Regions from separate parts of the Homo sapiens genome. Here region 1 is linked to region 2. Evidence: promoter capture Hi-C in 16 types of primary human blood cells and fetal thymus (Javierre and others, 2016). All regions are on one chromosome and are shown on one strand. Each heading gives the region's core, a stretch centred on a gene start or on the middle of the fragment in contact. The rest is flanking DNA. Distances are from core to core; before and after follow the strand shown.

Region 1 (4,487 bases), core at 1,224-3,723, 100 kb after region 2:
CACTCCACTCTATTTCACTTCACTGCATTTGCTCCACTTCATTCCATTCCATTCCACTCCACTGAATTGCGTTCTAGCTTTCCCTTCCCCACTCCCTCTATCTTCTTTTTTCTCTCCTCTCCCTTTGTTCTTTCCAGTATTCTGCCTCCTCCATCCATCCACCCACAGGCCAATCCATTTATGCTTCCATTCTCCCACTCAATTACACATCCATCACCCTGACCACACATCTATCCTCTGTCCATCCAGTCTTCCGACCTAGGTCTCCTGTCCATCTGCCTAACCTGCACACTGAGGGATCCAGGCATTAGTCAGCCCCAGTATCTATCTGCCCACCTTCCTTCTTTCAGCCCAGCTCCAATCTACTAAGGCAAAGACTTTTTGCCCCTTCCTGTCTTCCTCTCTTTCCATTCTCCTTCCCTTCCTCATCCTAGAACTTGGTTTCTTCTTACAGCAAACACGCACATATTTGTGGATGTGATAGAAGGAAAGAGTGCTGAGGAGGGGAGGGCCCTATAATTCATTCTGAATGAAGGTTGCCTCTTGGAAATGAGTCCAGCTCAGTCCACTGCCTCCCCAAGACTTCCTGAGTGCCAGCCCACTCCTTTCGCCTTAATATTCCTCCCCAAAGGCCCTGTGGACTGCTGTCTCTCCTGCCAATGCACAACGCTCATCCTCAAGGCATCCCAGTTAATTTTAAACGAGGCAGAACCAATCAAATTAGGAGACAGTTGTGTCGCCCCATCCTCCAATTATATCCTCTCTGAGGCCAACTTCTTTTATTTTAATCATTTAAAACTTGCAAAAAGAAAAAACAAGGAATTTCTTTATATCCTTCACCCAGTTGCCCCAATTTTTTAACATTTTACCATATTTGCTTTTCTCTATATATATAAATACATCTCACCTACTTTATAAACCAGTTGAGGGCTGAGAGGTTTCAGACATGACGCCCCCGTGCCCCAAGTTCATCCGTGTACAGTGCCCCAGGGCAGAGACATGTTCCTCTAGAACCATCGTTCATTCGTCAGCTCTCGGAAACAAAGCACTGGTACTGTGCTGAGCACTGTGGCACCGGCTCTGCTGGGCTCCTGGATGCTCCAAGGCCCTGCTCCCTGGCTGACTGCCCATTTCCTGTCCTCCTCCCGGCTTCAGGTGCGAGACAAGAAGCTTCTCAATGACCTGAATGGAGCCGTGGAGGATGCAAAGACGGCCCGGCTGTTCAACATCACCAGTTCTGCCCTGGCAGCCTCCTGCATCATCCTCGTCTTCATCTTCCTGCGGTACCCCCTCACCGACTACTAAGGCCCGCCAGGCACGGCTGCTGGCGGAGACAAGCACTGAGACATGTTTATTCTCATGGTCCCTGAAACGCAGGATCCCATGAGGTTGGGGCAGGGCAGGGCTTCTTGTCCTGGGGCCCCCTTGAGCTGTGAACTGGGCAGCAAGGCCATCAGAAGCTGAGTACAGCAAGGGGGCAGTGAGCTTGGCCCTCAGTCCACCCCCTCCGCCTCCTGGCCTCCACCCTGCCTGTGTCTGGGGCCTGGGGGCTTCTCCCCTCGCTGCTGCACCCTGGCTTCCAGCGTCTGTGTCCCTGCCCTCACGTGCCCCTTCCCAGGCTCCTGGGGCCCCTTGGACCTGACACCTAGCAGGAAGGGCTTATGCAAAATTGTCCCAGGTTGGGAGGACTCACTCTGTGCTCCCCGACCCTGCCTCCTCCACGATGTGACCCCGCTCAGAGCCCTTGTGTCTGTGAACTTTCAATGAAATACCCATGCAGCTCCAGCCCAGCCTTCTACTTTGTGTCCCTGGCAGGGCCTGGAGAAGTCTGGAGGCTTTGCAATCCTCCCTCAGGAACTGCCTGGCGGTCAGGGCCCCGGGTGCTGTGTCCCAACAGACTGCAGGGGACGGTCTGCTCCATCACAGCTGTGCCAGACAGTGAATGGGAAGGGGGGGCATTTGGTGGAGGTACCCCAAACTCGAGTCACTTAGAGGGTCAGGCAGCCTCCTGGGGGGACGGAAGGGGGTGGGGCACAGCCTCAGCTGCCTGCATTGGCCAAATCAGAGCAAAGGAAACCACAAATTCACTCGGAAGGAAGCAGCAGGCAGAGACGATAGACGCCTGGCTAACCCCTGTCCCTCCTGGAGGGCTCTGGGACCTGGACAGGCCCCTTTACCTCTCTCGTGCCCATCTCCTTAGCTGTAAAATAGGAAAATGGCCTTTCACTTCTATAATCACTGTGAAAATGAACGGAAGATGCCTTTCAAAGGCCGAGGCCAGCGCCCTGACGGCCCATGGCATGTGCAGTCCACAATGTGGGAGGCAGGATGCAGGGATGGGCTCTGTCCCCTTGGAACTCAGGCACAGTCATGGGGGTGCCGGTCAGCCCTGAAGACAAGCTGATGAGGGTGCACTAGGAAAAGTGCAGGGCATCGGCGAGGCACACGAAGGAGGTGGGGAGGTGAAGATGGAGAAGAAGCCGAGGCAGTGGCCATGGGTGTGGAGCTTCGCGCTGTGGGTGCCCAGCTGGTCTGGGAAACCGCAGGAAATCCCGCAGCTCAGGTGCGCAGTGGGAAGGACTTGCTATTCCGTGGGAAGGCAGGCAAACCTTCCCAGGGAAGGGGCATGGCCGTGCGCCTCATGTTTTGGGAAGCTCGTGCCCTCTGGGGTAGCGAGGCCAGCTTGGAGGGGAGTCCAGTGGACAGAGGTGGATGCAAGTGGAGGGAGCTGAGCCTGGGCTGGGGCTGGCAGCAGAGGGCTGGACAGCAGGGCGCCTGCGTGGCAGCTGTGCAGTCAGTGGGGTTGACTGGTTTGGAAGGTAAGGTGGGGGAGAAGCCCGGAGGATTCCTGTCCCTTGACTTGGACAGCCCAGTGGAGAGGGCTGTGTACCAAGGGCAGGAAACCAGGGAGAAGAAGATGTTGACTTTAAGATACCAAGCAGAGAAGGGAAGAGCCTTCTGGGCTGGAGACGTGGGGTGCCTCAGAAGGGAGGACCTTGAGCTAGCAGCAGATGGGACAAACGCAGGGGACAGGGCACAGCCGTGGCAGGAGTGCAGCGAGCAAGATTCTGGTCACAGTCCTGACCCAGAAACCTGCAGAGGAAGGGAGGGTGGCCAGCACCTGCCCGTGGGCCTGGGGTGCAGCCCAGGCAGAGGTGGATGGAGGGGGTGCTCAGGGAAGAGGGGAGGGGAGTGTGTGACCTCAAAATGGGAGGGCTTGGGGGTCAGAGTCGAGAGAGGGGACAGGGTGGGGACCATGTGGGACTCTTGAGCACTGACCCTTGAACCCAGGCAGTGGTGGGATGGGAGGGCAGGAGGCGGCGGGCTGCGAGGCTGATGCGGGGCTGCACGGAGCTGTCATTGAGCCTCTTGGAGGATGGTGGGAGAAGTGCCAGGGGCGGCTGAAAGCCTTGCCGAGACTGTGGGCAGCCTGGTTGTGGGCACTTCGGATGCTTGCACCATTAGACCCAGAGGCTTCCTGGACAAGCCTGGGCTGGAAGAGGATGGCAGAGGCTGCTGGGCCTTGGAAGAGAGAGGGTCCTGGCTTCTAGTTCCTGGGGCAGCTAAGGCCAACCCCAGTGTCCAGGTGTCTTCCATGTTATGCCTGGGAGGGAAGAAAGTAGAGGGGCAAATGCTTTCTTTGCCTATTTTCCTTAAACATTTGGTGGCAGTGCTGGTGGCTGCCTGGGACAGGGGCCAGGAGGAAACACCCCTGCATTAGGGAAGCCCTCAGCCAGCTTTTCCCTGGGATGTTCCTGCGCCTGGCTGAAGCTTTCTGAGTTCATGTTGGGGAAATGGAACGGTCACCTTCCAGCCAGTAAAGGCACCCCTAGCTCTTGGGATGTTTGTATCCAACTCCGGGCAATGTGGGGCTACAAAGGCCCCTGGCTTCCATACCCTGGGGACCGGGGGAGGGCTGGTGCTCCCGCGGTGGGTGTCCACGGTGAGGTCAGGCCCCCACAGCAGGTGCATTCTCGCCCTCAGCAGGCAGGCAAGCAGGCATCAGCTCCGGCGCTGGTCTCTGGCTTCGAAGTCTGTGTCTTTGCCTGTCTGTACTCATGCCTGACCTGCTGGCGCTCCCTGTCCACTGCACTCCTCCCACCTCATTTTTATGTGATTTTGCACAGTGCCTGGCAGACATTTGACATTCAATAAACATTGTACGAACGAAAGAATCAATCCCCCTCTCACTCTCTCTGTCCTTCTCCCTGTGTGCCTCCATATATTTGTGCATCTTTGGGGAGTCAGGTGACTTTCCCTACCCTCCCCTCTCCCCATGCTGCCCTGGTCACTGCCCTTGGGACCCCAGCCCAACAGGCCAGTTTAAAAGGATTGGGGCTTGGCTCAGTGGCTCATGCTTATAATCCCAGTGCTTTGGGAGACTGAGGCAGGAGGATTGCTTGTGCCCAGGAGCTCAAGGCTGCAGTGAGCCGTGATTGCACCACTGCACTCCAGCCTGGGTGACAGAGTGAGACCCTGTCTCAATA
Region 2 (3,328 bases), core at 1-2,500:
GTGCACTTTTGTCTCATGTCTGTGTCCGGCCTGGGTGGAGACGCTGACCCGGGCATAGGGGTCCACGGTGCCCCCAGGCCTCAGGTCGGCTGCCTGCCTCAGGCCCACCCTGATCTGGGAGCCAGCGGGGTGGGCTCAGCCAAGGGCCCCTGCCCTGTCAGCTCCCCACCACCCAGGGCATGGGGTCTGCCCTTCCCCCGTCACCCTTTCCGGAAACTCGCAGAACCGCTGGTCCTGCGCAGCGGGGCCCTTCACCTCCTGGCTTCCAAAGTCGAACTCCAGGGAGAGCTGCAGGCACCCCCATTGCTGAGCATCCCCCGGGCTGGACTCCAGGCCATCCACATCAGGTTGCACCTGGAGTGAGTTGGGACAAGGGGCAGGTGGTGCTGACATCATGCCTCATCAGAGCCCTGGGCTCCCGGGCAGCCCTTGCATGACATGGGTCAAGACCCCCCGCCTCCAGGCCAGGCCACCCAACAGGCACAAATCGTCGGCTTCGCTCTGTGAGACCGGCCAAACCCACCCAAAACGTGGCATCTGGGGTACCCCCTGCCTTCCTCAAGAACCCGCTGTGGCTCCCTCGGGCCCATGGGGCAGCCCCTGTTGCATGGCCTCCTTCTCACCTCTGTTCACCCACTTTCCCTGCCAGGAAGGTCCTCAACGCCCTGCCTCTGTGGGGGTTAAACCATCCCTGGGGCTGAACTCGCCTCGCTGCCCTGGGCTCTGGAGCCTGGATTTCAAGCCCTCTCTGGACTGAGTGAGCAAGGAGCCGCTCCTCACCAGGTGGGTGGTGGTGGTGCCGCGGGCACTGCCCAGACCCACGGACTCCTTGTCCCTGGGCTTCTTCCTGTGGCGGCGGCAGCAGCAGCAGGCAGCACAGAGGAGGCAGGAGACGAGGAGGACGCCCGCGGCAAGGGCGCCGGCAATGAGAGCCCAGCGGGGCCCTGGGGTAGAGGCCAGGCTGAGTGCATCTGTGGACAGCTGCAGCCCCCACTTGGCTGGGTTATCCCCACACCCCTCTTGGGAATCCCACAACTCACAGGGGGTCCCGGCGACAAGGTCTGGAATAAGCCCAGGTATAGCTGTGGTGCCAGCTGGGGCCGGGGCACTGGGAGAGACTGGTGGGTGCCCCATCTTTCTACCCTGCTGGTTTGGAAGAAGCGGCCCAGGAGGCTGGGTCAGCTGGGAGGGTGGCCCCTCCGGCCCCTGCCCGCTACCCCATCTGACTAGCAGCAGCCAGTGCTGGGTCTGCCAGGGCAAGGAGGCAGCACGGGGTGGCCAGGGGCGAGGGTTCTGTGCAGCAGGAAGCTGAAGGGAGGGAGGCTCTGGACCCTGGCCAAAGCTCCAGCTTAGCTGCCCAGGCCCAGCCTCCCAGCCACCTCCCAGCAGCCCCCAGCCCCAGCCAAGCAGGCAGGGCCTGGGCAGCCTAGTCCCTGCCTTCACCGGACCTCAGAGCACCCTTGCCCCCACTGTAGGATGCGTCCTCCACCAGGAAGCTCTCTCCCTCCCTGCTTCTCTCTCCTGGGCCCTGGACCCTGGGCCCTGCCTGGGGGTCCCATCTCATCCCTGGGGGTCTCATCTCTGCGGTCCCATCACTTCCTTGCCTCTACCCCAGCACGCACCACAGCTGGGGCCCACCATGGTTTGCCAGCCATGCAGGTGGAGCATGTTCACTGCAGCCCCCAGGAACTTGGAAGCCCAGAGGGGTCTGCAGGGTCATGGCGGGAGGAGCAGGGCTGGCTGTCGGCGGAGCTCACTGAGCAGGCCTGGGCTAAAGGTGCATTCCTGGCAGGGGCTCAGGGCCGCAGCGCCTGAGGATGAAGGTGAGGTGGTGGCAGGTAGGGGCAGGGTGCAGCTGGGAGCGGCCAGAACATTCCACACACACTGACTCAGCCGCTGCCTGGACTCGTCCACCTGCCTGCCTGGCCACCCTTCGGCATGTGGGTGGGAAGGAAGGTGGGGCGGGCGCAGCTGCTGGCCCCTGTACCCGCCTGCCTAGGGCCTGGGGAGGGAGCACACCTGGCTGGGCTGGCTCCTGTCACCTACAGGCAGGGGAACCAGGGTGCTACATGGGGCCTACGGTGACCCCAGGCCCAGGGTGACTCCCCAGCTCAGCTCTTCCCTGACTCCACCCGCTCCAGAGAGCAGCAGCCAGCCAGGAGACTCTGTTCCTCCACATTGGCGCCTCCCCTGCTTTGCCCACAAGAGCCTGGGACCCCTCTTGCCATGTCCAAGTCAGCCTGGCCTCAGGGGCCCAGCCCAGGCCATCCCATCGGGAATAAGCAGCTGTTGAGGCCAGATACCCTCACCTCTGCAGCCCCCCAGTCTGGGGCAGAGCAAGGAGACAGACAGAAAGGGACCCTGCCATGACTCCAGACACACACACACACACACACACACACACACACACACACACACACACACGCACGCGCACACAGCATCAATGCCCCACTCCCTGGCAGGCTGGGAGAGGCAGCTGCACTCCCAGAACGGACCCAAACCCCCAGTGTTCAGATGAGGGGGCTGCAGCTCAAGGAGGGGAGGGAGGGTCCAGGTTCCAGCCCCACACGCATGTTGACCCTGTGAGGTCAGCAGGCCAGGTGTTTTACAGACGAGTGGACCGAGGCTGGGAGCTCTAGTTTTGTGGCTCTGGAGGCCAGCATGGCCTGGGAAGCCCAGCCTGTCCCCAGAACACAGGGGCCAGCACAATGGAGGGATTATAGGTACAAAAAGGAGATGCGGAGGTCAGGGCCAGCTTTCCAGGCTGCACCCTGTGCGCAGGGCCCCATGCTCAGAGGGGTCCCTGCTTGGTTTAATGCGTGCTGGGGCCATCTTGAAATTCTTAATTTTGGAACAAGATGCTGCACATTTTCATTCTGCACTGGGCCTCACAAATGACGGAGCTTGTCGAGTTCGGGGGACCCTTTGGGTGAGTCCCCTGCAGATGCAGTGTGGGTGTGCAGTGAAGCTCACGGGCCTCGGCAGCCCCTCAGCTCCTGGGGGACACTCCCAGGTGGGTCCGGCGTCCCACACGTGGCTGGCGGAGCGCTCCTACTGGTGGTGGCTGATGGAATGGGCTGGGTCCGCAGGGTCCCTGGAGCGGGACTGTGCCGGCCAGATTCAAACAGGCCACTGCCTCCTCCCTACGTGGAGTTTCAAGGCAACTTCTCTTTTTGAAATGTCAGAGCCTGTATACATGCTGAGATTAAAGTAGCTTCACTCCAGATTTTTATGGTTGAGATTCCGGATAAGTTGCCAATACAGAATCTCCATCTGTGAGTGCGGGCATGTGTGCGTGTGCGTGTGCGTGCGCCCCTCCCCTGTGCCC

The links. Contacts are between HindIII fragments. The CHiCAGO score rates a contact against its expected background, and 5 or more counts as called.
Region 1: a contact is called between a fragment that was not itself captured here and the fragment with the promoter of SYT8 in region 2, in 1 of 17 cell types (monocytes). The highest score is 7.2, in monocytes.

What each region holds. Positions count from the first base shown.
Region 1 is chr11:1,732,098-1,736,584 of GRCh38, reverse strand. It overlaps IFITM10 (interferon induced transmembrane protein 10), which reads left to right. Exons shown (of 3, transcript NM_001170820.4): 3 at 1,156-4,179. The coding sequence ends at 1,305. Among named protein-coding and RNA genes, the nearest start is that of IFITM10, 16 kb to the left of the region's middle. The HindIII fragment of the contact is 2,601 bases long and covers 1,173-3,773 here.
Region 2 is chr11:1,832,912-1,836,239 of GRCh38, reverse strand. It overlaps SYT8 (synaptotagmin 8), which reads right to left and starts at 1,250. Exons shown (of 8, transcript NM_001394072.1): 1 at 1,041-1,250; 2 at 781-944; 3 at 256-354; 4 at 1-114. The coding sequence starts at 1,134. RefSeq lists enhancers at 2,060-2,673, 2,674-3,289. The HindIII fragment of the contact is 25,919 bases long and covers 1-3,328 here.